Regions from separate parts of the Homo sapiens genome. Here region 2 is linked to region 1. The links are contacts of gene promoters, found by promoter capture Hi-C in blood cells and fetal thymus (Javierre and others, 2016). All regions are on one chromosome and are shown on one strand. The core of a region is centred on a gene start or on the middle of the fragment in contact, and the rest is flanking DNA. Distances in the headings are between cores, read along the strand shown. Region 1 holds the start of FLNA (filamin A). Region 2 has its middle 13 kb from the start of OPN1LW.

The links. The method cuts DNA at HindIII sites, captures the fragments that hold promoters and counts their contacts. A CHiCAGO score of 5 or more calls a contact.
Region 2: a fragment that was not itself captured here is called in contact with the fragment with the promoter of FLNA in region 1 in 2 of 17 cell types (total B cells and naive CD4 T cells); the score reaches 5.2 in total B cells.

What each region holds. Positions count from the first base shown.
Region 1 is chrX:154,372,561-154,377,046 of GRCh38, forward strand. It overlaps FLNA (filamin A), which reads right to left and starts at 2,074. Exons shown (of 48, transcript NM_001110556.2): 1 at 1,946-2,074. RefSeq lists silencers at 349-408, 1,951-2,010, 2,021-2,160 and an enhancer at 812-861. The HindIII fragment of the contact is 17,250 bases long and covers 1-4,486 here.
Region 2 is chrX:154,129,425-154,133,910 of GRCh38, forward strand. No RefSeq gene overlaps it. Among named protein-coding and RNA genes, the nearest start is that of OPN1LW, 13 kb to the right of the region's middle. The HindIII fragment of the contact is 8,995 bases long and covers 1-4,486 here.

The DNA of each region.
Region 1 (4,486 bases), core at 824-3,323:
TGGCTGCTGTGCCGAGATGTAGACTGGGACCAGGGGACGGCTGGGGACGCTCACTGCTACTATCTTCAGTCAGAAGCCAGCCTGCCTATGGCTTCCTCCCCATTGTGCACTCCCCTCCCTCTCAGTCCTCGGTACCTCCCCTCTCCAGAATGTTTCCTCCTCTGAGTGTTTTTTTTTTTTTTCTAGGAAGGCAGGTATCTGTCCCTCCTGTTCAATTCTAGTAATAATTAATTTATCTGCTAAAGACCAGTGAGAGATGGAGGCCCTGGGTTGGCCAGCACGTCATGCCCAAATATGGTTGACTCTCCTGTAGCCCTGGGTGTCTACATGACACGTGGTGGGGCTGTGATCCGCCCAGCACATTCACTTCGGGGCAGCCTGTGGCCCCACTGGTTTTTCCCACTAGTAGTGGTGTTAGGGGGTGCAAATGGCATTTTCCAGTACTGAGGCCAACCCCTGTATATTGTCCCCTCTCCTGACCACTTTGAGACACACCTGCACCAAGTGCGCCTGGGCGTCTGGGAGCTGGGGTGGAGGTGGGAGGGAGGGCTGGGAAGGGGGAACCCATACAGACCCCTCCCTGCACGGGCCCCATTCAAGACGGGCTTGAAGTTGTCCTTCTGGTCCCCCTGCCCCACTGGAAAGCAAGTTCCCAGGCACGGAATTCCATCAATAATTGACTCTCTCTCCACTAAGGGCCATTGAGCTGGGTTGTCTGGGTTCATTCCTTAATCTTCAGAGCTCAGGGAAACTGAGTCAGAGTGACCAGTGGTCAATTCCAGCAGAAAGAGTGTCAGGAGGTGGGTGCCGTGTCTTCCAGCCCTAGCTTTTCCCTATTTAGAGGAAACAAGGAATGGGCGTGTAGAGGGTTCTTGTCCCTAGAACATAGTATCAACCGCCAGATGTCGCCCGATCCCAAAGCCACCAGATCGGGCAGTCCTGGGAAGCCAAAATCCAGCTCTTTCATATTTTCCCTTATTTGGAGTAGATTCTTGGATGTTAGGCACACCCCGCCCACCACACCACCCCTGGCCCTCAGACCCCAGGCCAGACCCTCCCACTGGGAGGTATAGCCCAAGCCCAGGAGCTGTTCAGCTGGGATCCCTAAGGAGCTGTTTCCAGGCCTGCGTAGCCAGGGGGCGCAGGAGGGAAGGAAGCCGCAGACTGGCAAGGTGAGAAGAGACCTGTGCTGGCAAGTCCAGGTGCGGCAGGTGAGGTCGCCCATTCCCAAGCTCCCACCTTGACGGTGCACTCGGAGCACTTACAAATGGGTCTGCCAGTGGATTTTAACCTATTTTGCCTGGCCCCAGGTGGCACGGGAATCTGGGGACATTGTTGGTTATATCCTGGCTGGCAGTGCGCATCCAACTCAGAGCCAACCTGGCATAGGGCCCAGGGCCCAACCAAGGAACCTGGCCTGGTCTCATCCTCACCATGGCCCCCATGGAGTAGAGCAGCCCCAGAACCAGCTCCCCTGTGCCCAAAGCAGCTGGTGCCCTGTGGACTCGAGCCAGCAAGGGACACGCTGTCCCCCTCCCAGTGGGCACACTGGCTGAGAAGTGTCCTTCCAGGTGGCCACTCGCCCTGAGTCCACACAAGTTCCTGGTGTCAGGGCCCTTCTCTCTCAGGCATGCAGTGGTCCGTTCATGGGCAAGTGCCCAGACACCCTCTCTCTCTCGGGGACCCCCCATGGCCTCAGGCTCCCACATTCGTGGGCACAGACATGGCTCGTGGGTCAACTAGGGAAGCTATTCTCTGGACACTCACTCCCAGATGCCAGGGGAGCCTCCATCGGCTCACGCATCCCAGCTGAACCTGGCCCGGACCTGGGCGCGAGCTGGCGCCTGCGTTTTCCGGCCTCTCTGCCCGCCTTCTCCAACCCCGCCCCCGGCCGACGAGGAGCGCGGCGACCCTACGGCGCGAAGCCGGGCCGCGGAGACCTCACCTGCTGTTCCTGAGAGCGACCGGTGACCGATGACCGCGGGGTGGCGCCCGGATCGCCTTCGCGCCCGCGCCCGCGCCAGGCGCCTCGGGGATTCTGTCGGCGTCCGCTGCGCGCGACGCGCCTCCACGCGAATGGGCCGCCGCCGCCCGCCTTCTTGTTGGCCGCACCCCCGCCCCGCGCCCGCCCCGCGCCCGGCCCGGCCCGGCGAGAAAGCCTTAATTGGTAAAATTGCCCAGGAGCCCGGGACGGGTGCGTGGGGGGCGGGGGTGCGGGGGCACGCCGTGAGCTCCAGCGACCCGCCGCCGGGCGACGCCGCCCCCCGAGATGAGCTCACCGCCGGCGAGGGCCGCCAGGCCCTGGGGGAGGGAGGGCTTCGTGGGGGAGTCGCCTCCAGCGCCCACAGGGACTGCAGGGCTCGTGTCTAGGCCCAATCACAAGGATCCTGCGTGTCTGAGTCTGGGGGAGCCAAGCGCACCCCAGGTGGAAAGGCCGAGGCCCAAGGCCACCTTCTCCAAGGAGCCACCCACAGTCACAGCCCCTGGTGTCTGTCCCAAGCCGGGATTGTTTCCTGGGGTGGGGGCAACAGGTCGTTGCAGGTGTTGGCTGGGCGCCTACGTCAGGCAGGGCCCCGGGACGGGACTGCAGGGCTCCGAGCCCTGGGATGAACCTGACTGCCATGGATCAGGCGCTGCCAGGTCTGGCCTGGGGTGGGCAGCAGAAACAGGATCGCTCAGGGGGACGAGAAAGTTAAGTTTGTTTAGTATTAAGAAGATTCTGATCTTAAAGAAAACATTGGCCGGGCATGGTGGCTCATGCCTATAATCCTAGCACTGTGGGAAGCTGAGGCAGGTGGATTAATTGAGCCCGGGAGTTTGAGACCAACCTGGGCAACACAGCAAGACACTATCTCTACCAAAAATATAAAAATTAGCTGGGCGTGGTGACGTGCACCGGTAGTCTCAGCTGCTCAGGAGACAGATGGGAGGATCGTTTAAGCCCGGGAGTTTGAGGCTGCAGTGAGCTATAATTTCACCACTACACTCCAGCCTGGGTCACACAGTGAAACCCTGTCACTAAACATAAAAAAAAAGGCCAGGTGCGGTGGTTCATGCCTGTAATCCCAGCACTTTGGGAGGCCGAAGTGGGTGGATCACGAGGTCAGGAGTTCAAGAACAGCCTGGCCAAGATGGTGAAACCCCGTCTCTACTAAAAATATAAAAACTAGCCGGGCGCAGTGGCAGGCGCCTGTAATCCCAGCTACTCGGGAGGCTGAGGCGGGAAAATCGCGTGAACCCGGGCGGCAGAGGTTGCAGTGAGCCGAGATCACGTCACTGCACTCCAACCTGGGTGATAGAGACTCCGTCTCAAAAAAAAAAAAAAAAAAAAAAAAAAAGGCCGGGCGTGGTGGATCCCAGCACTTTGGGAGGCTGAGGCAGGTGGATCACGAGGTCAGGAGTTTGAGACCAGCCTGGTCAACACAGTGAAACCCGGTCTCTACTAAAAATACAAAAATTAGCTGGGCGTGGTGGCAGGCGCCTGTAATCCCAGCTACTCGGGAGGCTGAGACAGGAGAATCGCGTGAACCTGGGAGGCGGAGGTTGCAGTGAGCTGAGATTGCGCCACTGCACTCCAGCCTGGGTGATAGAGCTAGACTGTGTCTTGGAAAAAAATAATAAATATAAAAATAAAAATACAAATAAAAAAATAACGTTAACAGCTCAGTGAACAATCATCTACTTGTCATAGACACTGAGGAATGTTTCCATGTTGATATTTTTTCCTCGTAACTCAATCATGTTGGGATTGTAAGTTATACAGCATATACTGCTTGCAAGCCATTCCATCCTTAAGGAGCAACTCAGTTTTCTTATTCTTGACTTAGAATTGGTTGCATCCCGATGTCTCCTCTGCCTGCACTTCCCAGGAAGAACCCCCTGAGGCCCTCAGATTTTCCTGCACACGCCCTTCCCAGACCCTCTGATGACTGCAAATCCCACCCTACCCTTGACGGGAAACTCTCTGAGGCTGTCCAGGTCATCACCCCCAGGGACCAGGTACTGGTGGGGGAATGTTCCATGAATTAATTGCTGTACTCAGGGCTCTTGGACAAGTCTCCCCTGATCGCAGGGTCCTGACTCTCCCTGTATAAGATGGAGGCTCTGCTGCTCAGGAGCCTGCCTGGCTTCCAGTGGTCTGGAGTGGAGCTGCACTGCAATGGGGCTGGACTTAGGCTCCAGGTACCCACAGGGTGGGTGCAGGGGGACCATCACAGTTCAGCTTCCTGGTGCCATCTGTGGTGGGACCTGATTGTGGGGCAAAGGGGTGGGACATAAAAGGCAGAGTGTCGAGGCAGGTACAGAACGGGTGGGGGGTGCTCCTTAGGGAGAAGGCAAATCTAGAATTCCTTGACCTCATAAGGAAACAGCTTGGATCCGTATGGGGAGGGGTGGCATGGGGGAGGATGGAGCAGCACTTAGTACACAGAGGCCTCTGGGAGAGGGGCCAGGATTGCAGAAGGCTTGCAGAGGTGCTGGGGAATCT
Region 2 (4,486 bases), core at 838-3,337, 240 kb before region 1:
TGTTCTGTGCACAGTGGGATGATGATGGTTAACAGTAAGATATTGCATATTACTGTTAAAATAGCTAGAAGAGGCCTGTCATCCCAGCACTTTGGGAGGCCGAGGTGGGCGGATCACCTGAAGTCAGGAGTTCAAGACCAGCCTGGCAAACATAATGAAACCCCATCTCTACTAAAAATACAAAATTAGCCGGGTGTGGTGGCGGGCACCTGTAGTCCCAGCTACTCTGGAGGCCAAGGCAGGAGAATCGCTTGAACCCAGGAGACGGAGGTTGCAGTGAGCTGAGATCGCACCACTACACTCCAGCCTGGGGGCAAGAGAGCAAGACTCCATCTCAAAAAATAAAAAATAAAAAATAAAATAAAATAGCTAGAAGAGAGGTATTTGCATGTTCGCATTGTCAAGAAATGATACTTGCATGAGGTGATAGGTACACTAACTACCGTGATTGGGTCATTGTGCAACGTGATATGAATTGGCACCATAAATATGCATGATTACAATGTATCAAGAAAAAACAAATAAAGCCAAGAAAATAATCTAAAACTCCAGGTTTCCTCAATATTTCTTTATAAGAAAAATCCTTGAATAGATTAAATTGTTTTATTCTTCATTTAAGAAATAGCTGTATGTCTTTGTCTTCTCTCCAGTTTTATCACAGTACGAAGTATGTAAAAGTGACAATGGGAACACTGTGCTTTGGTTTTTGCAAGATTTGAGATGTATCCATTATGATTTTCTCATGAGAAATTTTATTATGTTGACCTTTCTAAACCCATAATACTTACCTTGCAGATCACGTACGTCAGCATTTCTTACACTAAATATCTAAGGTTTTGTAAATGTAAACACGAGTTGAGCTAAACTGAGTTATAATAATGAATATCTGTATTTTTAAAATCAACCTTTTAAACTTCCAACAATAGCAGTAATTGTGTAGCCCTACAAAGTTACTCCACCTTGTAAACGGAATAAATTGTAGTGTCATATTTGTCAAATTTTATTCATGAAGTGTGATCATATTGTGCTACTATCATTTCTTTTTTTCTTTTTTTTTCTTTTTTTTTTTTTTTGAGATGGAGTCTTGCTCTGTTGCCAGGCTGGAGTGCAGTGGCATGATCTTGGCCAACTGTAACCTCCGCCTCCTGGGTTCAAGCGATTCTCCTGCCTCAGCCTGTCGAGTAGGTGAGATTACAGGCGTGCGCCACCACACCCAGCTAATTTTTGTATTTTTAGTAGAGACAGGGTTTCACCATGTTGGCCAGGCTGGTCTTGAACTCCTGACCTCGTGATCCGCTCACCTGGCCTCCCAAAGTGCTGGGATTACAGGTGTGAGCCAACACGCCCAGGCAGCCTAGTATAATTTCTAAGATTCCCTCATCTACTGACTTTGATACCTGGGGTAGACAATAAATTGAGGTAATTAGCAAGTATATTTACCTGGATAATCTCCAAAGGAATGAAAATTCATAAAGACAAAATGCAAACACACACAGTTATTTCTGACATATATGTATTCTAGTCTATGCATAAACACAATGGTGCCACACAACACTCATAAATCAGAAAATCACTGTAGTCTAAACATTGTTTTGTGCTATGCCTGAATTTTTACTTATTTTTTTTTTAGAGACCGAGTCTCACTCTGTCACCCAGGCTGGAGTGCACTGGTGCAATCCTAGCTCACTGTGGCCTCAAACTCCTGAGCTCAAGTGATCCTCCCACCTCAGCCTCCCAAGTAGCTGGGATCACATGCGGGTGCCACTACACCCTGCTAATTTTTGCATTTTTACTTTTTGTAGAGATGGGGCCTTGCTGTGTTGCCCAGCCTACTCTCGAACACCTGGCCTCCAAGCAATCCTCCCATCTTGGCCTCCCAAAGTGCTGGGATTACAGGCATGAGCCCCCACGCCCAACCTATGCCTGATTTTTAAATTTTTACTATAAAACCTAAACTTTTAAAGCAGTAAATAATACCACTACCTGAACATCTGTGTGTGTGTGTGTGTGTGTGTGTGTGTGTGTGAGATGGAGTCTCACTCTGTTGCCCAGGCTGGAGTGCAGCGGCGTGATCTCGGCTCCCTGCAACCTCTGTCTCTCAGGTTCAAGCAGTTCTCCTGCCTCAGGCTCCCAAGTAGCTGGGATTACAGGCACACACCACCATGCCTGGCTAATTTCTGTATTTTTAGTAGAGATGGGGTTTCACCATGTTGACCAGGCTGGCCTCAAACTTCTGACCTCAGGTGATCTGTCTGCCTCAGCCTCCCAAAGTGCTGGGATTATAGGCATGAGCCACCATGCCTGGCCGTGAACATCTTTTACTGTGACTGCATATAAGTGTATGTTTACATAAACATACATAGAGGTGTATTACATCAATGAATGTTTTTTAAAGTTTCTGTATGATGGAGTGCAGAGGCCTGGGCGCAAGGGAGTAAAGGGTCTTTAAGTAATCAATATATTTTCAACCTCAAGTATCCTATCTAGAGCCAGAGGTTTTTTTTCTCACCCTACTAGGAGCTCACAGCACTGCAAATCTGTTAACAGAGGTGCTTTTATGCTGCCCCTTGGCATGGTTATTTCATAACTGCAGCCAATTATAAGAGAACAAGCAATCGAACAGAACAAAGAGCAAAGGCTCTTCCTTTGTGGAGGAGCTAAAATTCCCACTGCTTACCATGTTACCTTCTCCTGTGTGTTGTTATCAAATATTGGGACTCTGGTTACACTGTCAAGGCCATGGGCCTTTCTTGTTCTAGGGCAGCTGTGCTCCTCTCTTAAGCAACTGACCCGTGTCTCCTGGCAACTCTCTTTGGTACTGGACTTCTCCAAGATCAGTCCTCAAATTAATAACAACACTGACAAGGGTCTTCGGACCACCGTGTTTGGTACCTGGCTGCTTGGGACCATCCAGGTTTGCCCCTTTGCCTGGCTTGGGTAACCCACTGTATGGTGCACACGAATAAAGGCTGATGCCGAGAAGAATGAGGCTTGTAGTTACGAAAAGTGACTCAATGGAATTAAAAAATCTACCCTGCAGCCTGGGAGCAGTGGTTCACACCTGTAATCCCAGTGCTTTGGGAGGCCAAGGCAGGAGAGTCGCTTGAAGCTAGGAGTTGGAGACCAGCCTGGGCTATATAGCGAGACCCTGTCTCTACAGAAAAAATACAAAAATTAGCTGGGCATGGTGGTGTGTGGCTGTAGTCCCAGGTACCTCGAGAGGCTGAGGCAGGAGGATCGCTGGAGCCCAGGAGGTCGAGACTGCAGTGAGTTGTGATCGTGCCACTACTGCAGCCTGGGTCACAGAGCAAGATCCTGTCTCAAAACAAACAAACAAACAAACAAACAAACAAAAACTATCCTGTAAATGTATAAAAATGTCACTAATTTCAATGTGTTTCGGTAAAAAGGAATGAAGTACCGATACATGCTGAAATTCAGATAGATCCTCAAAAGCATTTTGCTCAGTGAAAGAAGCCACACATGAAAAGTCACATATCAGATGAGCCACTTTATGTGAAATATCCAGAATAGAGGAATTCATAGACACAGACAGCAGATTAGCGGGTGCCAGGGGCTGAGGGATTAGGGGATGGGGAGTGGCCACGTAATGGACACGGGGTTTCTGTACGGCATGATGAAATATTCTGAAAGTACATAGTGGTGATGGTGGCACAACGTGCATTAGTAAATGCACTAAATGTCACTACACTGTACACTTTCAGATGACTAATTTTATGTTATGTGATTTTCACTTTAATTAAAAACCACCATATTGGCCAGGCGTGGTGGCTCACAACTATAATCCCAGCACTTTGGGAGGCCAAGGCAGGAGTATCATTTGAGCCCAGGAGTTCGAGACCAGCCTGGCCAACATGGTGAAACCCCCATCTCTACAAAAAATACACAAAAAATTAGCCATGTATGGTGGCATACACCTGTAGTCCCAGCTACTTGGGAGGCTGAGGTGGATCGCTTGAGACCAGGAGGCAGAGGCTGCAGTGATTGGAGATCGTGCCACTGCACTCCAGCGTGGGTGACAGAGTGAGACTCTGTCTCAAACAACAACAAAAACACAAAATATTTTGGTAATGCATAACTTCTTGGGATGAATTTTAAATGTTTATTTTTTTATGCAAGAGCTAACACAAGTGCTCTCAGCACGATGACTTTTTACCTTCTGAAAGATTGTATTGTGAGCTTTAAAATCTCTTTGTCCATTAATAGTTTTAGTGACTCACAAAATGGAGATTTCCAGACCCAAGATAGCTAGAAACAAGTGGCCTAGCAGGACAGGGTCATGGTGTACAGCCAAGCTGTACCTTGGTGTGAATGCAGGGGCTAGAACGCATCAACACCAAGGTTTATCAAGTGGTGACAATGTGGACACCAATACTTGGAAAGTGGCAGCGCCACTGTCATAGACCCCCACTTTCCCATCAGAGATCCCAGTGCCAAGGCTGTACCAACTTCTTTCTGTTCCTTG